Linked DNA regions of Homo sapiens: region 1 is linked to region 2. The links are contacts of gene promoters, found by promoter capture Hi-C in blood cells and fetal thymus (Javierre and others, 2016). All regions are on one chromosome and are shown on one strand. Each heading gives the region's core, a stretch centred on a gene start or on the middle of the fragment in contact. The rest is flanking DNA. Distances are from core to core; before and after follow the strand shown. Region 1 has its middle 8.0 kb from the start of RCAN1. Region 2 holds the start of KCNE1 (potassium voltage-gated channel subfamily E regulatory subunit 1).

Evidence for each region. Contacts are between HindIII fragments. The CHiCAGO score rates a contact against its expected background, and 5 or more counts as called.
Region 1: a contact is called between a fragment that was not itself captured here and the fragment with the promoter of KCNE1 in region 2, in 1 of 17 cell types (neutrophils). The highest score is 5.3, in neutrophils.

What each region holds. Positions count from the first base shown.
Region 1 is chr21:34,621,778-34,624,477 of GRCh38, reverse strand. No RefSeq gene overlaps it. Among named protein-coding and RNA genes, the nearest start is that of RCAN1, 8.0 kb to the right of the region's middle. The HindIII fragment of the contact is 1,169 bases long and covers 703-1,871 here.
Region 2 is chr21:34,510,934-34,513,633 of GRCh38, reverse strand. It overlaps KCNE1 (potassium voltage-gated channel subfamily E regulatory subunit 1), which reads left to right and starts at 1,424. Exons shown (of 4, transcript NM_000219.6): 1 at 1,424-1,607; 2 at 2,319-2,533. The HindIII fragment of the contact is 14,180 bases long and covers 1-2,700 here.

The DNA.
Region 1 (2,700 bases), core at 38-2,537, 110 kb before region 2:
AGTCATAAATACTTGTGTTTTTATTGCACATCATATAATATACACAATTTAATAATACATTGTAACATATCTTATCTGCCTATATTGCTATATTCATGTATGATGTATGAACATATATTCATATACCATCTAGTACATATTAGATACTATAGATTATAATTATGTTGCAGCATGTGTCATATTATACATAAGACATATAAATATATTTGCTTATATCTACTAACATATGTATATATCGTAATTGCATGTAAACATTAATATATATACATATATTTGCATGTTGTATACATATTTGATACTCATATGACATTGATACTCATATGACATTGGTGTGCATATATAATCCTCCTATATTTTTCTAGTCCATTTGTTCTCCCACATTCCTAGAAGATCACTTCACATTTTCTTCTCTTGCCTTCAACACTCAATGCCACCTTCCTCATCCTCACACTCAGACTCCTCTTTTACTGAGAAGATGGAGATGAACACAAGTGGCTTTCACCAGCCCTGCCCCAATATTTCATCGTCCCATGCACTGATGCCCAGGGTATCCGTGGTACATGCTGCTTTCCTTCAGTGTCGATGGACAGATTTGCTTTGCCACCTGGGACCCGCCTCTCTGTTCATGTACCAGGTGCTCTCTCTTTCCCATAGAGATGGCTGCAGAAATTCTCTCCCCCTCCCAGCCCCGGTCATCAAGCTTTCCTCTCTCCTGGATCATCCCAACCTGCAGACAGGCCTGGGGTGGCTTCTCCCATCTTCAACCAAACGAAACCCTCCCCTCACTCCCACTTCCTCTTCCATGTACTATTTCACTTCTCAGTTCTCCTCACAGCACAACTTCTTGAGAGAGTTGCTTACACTCATTATCTTCCATTTTTCTGCTCCCAATTGGGCTTTTACTTCTAAATAATTCTCCAAAATTTATCTTGCCAAGGTCAAAAAGGACTGCCAAACTTGGAAATCCAAACTCAGTTCCCTGTCCCCACAAAGCTGACCTCTCAGCAGCGCTAGTCACAGAGGGCTCTTCCCAAGCTGACTTTCAGCAGCGCTGGTTCCCTCCTCTGGGAAGCCCTTTCTGTTGTTGGCTTCCAGAATACCCCACCTGCCTGGTGGCTCTTGAGCCTCTCTGACCCCCCTTCTCAGGCACCACTGCTGGCTGGTGTCTGAGTGTCACTGTGCCCCTGGTCCAGACCCCAGACTCTCTTGTCAACAGCTACACTCACTCCCTAGGGGATCTCAGTGGCCCAGTGGCTTTAGATGCCATCTAGAGCCCTGTCCCCCCACTGTCACCTCTAAGGGGTCTCTCAATCCTGAATTGCTCCAAAGTAAGCTAAGGATAGCTGTTCCCCAACCTGTCCCTCTCACAGTCTACCTTATCCAGGTTAGAGGCAGCTTCTTCCTGTAGCCTTGGAGTCAGTCTTGATGCCTCCTTTTCTCTAAATATGGCAGATAGGCCGGGCACGGTGGCTCACGCCTGTAATCCCAGCACTTTGGGAGGCTGAGGCAGATGGATCTCCGGAGGTCAGGAGTTCAAGACCAGCCTGGCCAACATGGCGAAACCCCGTCTCTACTAAAAGTACAAATAAAAAATTAGCTGGGCATGGTGGTGTGCGCCTGCAATTCCAGATACTTGGGAGGCTAAAGCAGAAGAATTGCTTGAATCTGGGAGGCGGAGGTTGTAGTGAGCAGAGATCATGCCACTGCACTCCAGACTGGGCAACAGAGAGAGACTCTGTCTCAGAAAGAAAAAAAAAATAGCGATTCTCCTCAGAGCCCACAGAAGGAACACAGTTCTGCTGACCCCGTTTCCCCATTTTAGACTTATGCCCCCCAGAACCATACATTTGTATTGTTTTAGCCACTAAGCTTATGGTAATTTATTATCGCATCCATAAGGAACTAATACCCTGAGGAAATCCTGTTGTCTGAGCCTTCAAAATATAGAAAGAATCTTACCATTTTCTTACCACTTTGGGTCTTCCATCCAGACCCAAGTTCCCACCTTTTCCCACTGGGATGATGGCAACAGCCTCCTGAGAGGTCTCTGGTTTCCACACTTGTCCCCACACAGTGTTCTGTGCACACAGCTCCCAAGTGAGTCCTCCTAGTAGTTGTAAGAAAGATCAGGTTAGCTACTTTCTGCTCAAGCCTCCACCAGCTCCCTGTCTCAATGAGGATGAAACCCAAACTCCTTCCTGTGACCTACAAAGTTCTATATGATCTGACCCTATCACTTTTCTGAACTTTACACTACTCACCCCCTTGATCACTCACCCAGCCCCAGAAGAAACCTATCACAGCCTTTGCAGTGTTGCTTCAACAAGATGAGCAGCTGCTGCCCCCAGGACTTTGCACTTTCTCCTCTGCCTGGAGTGCTGTTTTCCAGAAGTAGCCATGGCATTCTCCCCCTTCTTCAGTCTTCCCTGGTTGCTAGAGCTGAAATCCTCCCTCCTCCCTATTTCCAGTTCCTTTTCTTTGCTTTATTTTTTTGTTCCTTTGTACTTCACCATGCATATCATCAACATCTACATGTTGTATTTACTTATTTTATGTATTGTCCATCTCTCTCCTTCCCTCCACTACCACCACTAGGAAGTACACTTCATGAAGTCAGGGACCTTGTCTGTTCTGTGGACCGTCATAGCTCCAGCATCTAGATAATGCTCTGCACATAGCATCTGTATTAGTCTGCTTTCA
Region 2 (2,700 bases), core at 175-2,674:
ATGGATGGATGGATGGATGGATGGATGGATAGGGATTTTGGAGGAAGAGGAGTGAGCAGTCACTGAAAAGAATAGAAAAATAATGAGGCTTGCTCCCTCTCCCTAGTCAGAAGAGCCAGTAAGCAGCTTAGAGCTTTAATCCCACAAATTGTCAGGCAGCTGGCGCAAGAACAGGGAAAAAGAGAGAGAGAGAGAGAGAGAGACCCTGTCTGTGGTAGGTTATGGTCATCAGTGAAAAAGAACAAAAACCTTTGTTTTAAAACTCTCCTCAAAACAGATGATTGGCTAGAGGGTGCGGCACAAAGGAACTTGTCAGGGTGATGGAGACATTCTGTATCTGGATTGAGCAATGCAAGAACCTGGGTAAAGACACAGTCATGGTAACAGCTGTATACATCTGTTGAAAACTCATCAAACTTATCATATTTAGAAAGGGTACATTTTGCTTCATGTAAAGTATGCCTCAATAAAGTGTACTTGATTTTAAAATCAGGATAAAGGAAAAAAACATTGATCTTGGATAATGGGCAGGGGTTGGGGAGAAGGTCTTAATTATCATCATATCCTTTTAAAAACGTTTTTCAAGTGTGTGATGCTCTGATGACATTCTTAAGACACAGCAAGGCAAAGCAGTATCCCAAATGAGAGAGTGAGCATTCCAATAAATATTTTCTGTAAGACACTGATATGTCTATGACTATTTGCTAAATTTAAAAATCAACTTGGACCATATTTACTCCCTTAAAGTCTAATAGACGACTAATTTCTTCTATGTTCAGAACAAATATGTTGCTACTTTAAGAACAGCATACATAGGTGTGGTCGGCCCTCTGTGTCTAAGGCTTCTGCATCTGTGGATTCAACCAACAATGGACTGAAAATATTCCAAAAATAAAATAAAATTAATGAAACAACAACAAAAATAAAACAAATAAAAAAATGCCAGGTAACAACTACTTACAAAGCATTTACATAGTATTAGGTGTTAGAAGTAATCAAGAGATGATTTAAATCACCATCTATGATTGGCTGATATGCATAGGTTATATGCAAATACTATGCCACTATATATAAAGGACTTGAACATTCGCAAATTTTGGTATCTGCAGGGGATTCTGGAACCAAACCCCATGGATACCAAGAGACAACTATATATAAAATACTGAAAGAGGCATGGAGAGTGATTTTCAGGCCTCTACCTAAAGCCCTGAATATTAGAAATTACTGAATTTCTTCTCAGGAAGGAAATTACGCCATAAACCAGTGTTGCCACACACCCAGAGAACAAGATGACCCGACGCCCCAGCCTGGTCATGCCACATGAGCTGAGCAGTGGGTAGGCCACTGAGCCAGTGATAGAAATCACAAATTACAAAACGTCAGAGTACTTTCTGGAAATAAGCCTTCCTCTCCAGGGAACAACGCATTTGACACTTGACTGGGATACACTACCGGATCCTCCGAGGGTGATGGTTCTCAAGAAGGCAGAAGCAATGGTGACCAATAGACCTCCTTAAAGGCTGAGCCGCTGGGCACCTTCCTACTCCTCTCGACCGTGCTAGGATGACTGCAGCAGAGTCCCCGAGTCCTTTGATGCAAGGGTCTAGGTGAGTTCGAAGGAGAGCCATACTAGGCCAGGCAGAAAGGCCCATGGTGATGGCTGTCCACCCTGGTCAGGGGAATTCTAGGTTCAGGCCATGCGGCAAGGTCACCTTGAGGGACATGCTTTGCTCTAAGCTCAGCTTAAGTGTGTCTGAACCCCCCTCACTTCTTCCAACTGCAGAAGCACATGGAGAAGGGGGAGAAAGGGTTGCCCACCTCCTAAAATGAGGGCAGCGTGGTGAAGAGCCCCATCATGCCCCACCAAGGTCCTGTGTGCAGGGCAGGGCAGTGCCTATCCAGAAGGCCAGACCTCTAACTGCTGCTCTGTAGGACGTCCGGGCCTCACATGCAGGCTCCTATAAGCTGGCTGTCTTGGCAAGAGGGCCCTGGTACAGCACTGTGTTCATCACAGAAAACCACACCGTACATAATTTGTAACAGACAGAAATGCATTTGGCTCATGGTTCTGGAGACTGGGAACCCAGGATGGAGGGGCCACATCTGGCAAGGGCCTTCTTGCCATGACATGGTGGAAGGTATCACAAGGTTGGGGAAGGAGGGGTGGGCGGGGCGGGAAGAGAGAGAGAGAGAACAAGAGAGAGAGAATCCATTCATAAGGGTGGAGCCCTCATGACTAAACACCTCCCATTAGGTCCCACCTCCCAACACTGTTGCTTTGGGGATTAAGTTTCCAGCTGGCTTTTTTCAAACCTTAGCAACCACCAAACAGACAAGCCCTTCGGCCTGTCCTGGAGGGCGTTGAATGGCATGGCCTGGAGCTCAACCAGGAGAACCGTGCTCAGGAGGAAGAGACCAGAAGGATAACTCAAAAAGTTCTGAGAAGTTCCTAAGACCACCTGAAGAGAAGGAGCCTGCTGCCAATGGTGTGGACACCGCAGTGTGCTTGAGGAGACTTCAGAAACGAGAACTGGTAGGAGAAGGGGGTTGCACAGACCCTTTCCTCAGTTAGGCACCCTCTGCTCCCACCCTCATGCCCACCCTGACATCAGGCTAAGGGAGAGGCGCTCATCCATTGACAGGTGCCAGGCTGTCCTGGGCCTGGCAAACCCTGGCCTTGTACACCCACTCTCCACACGT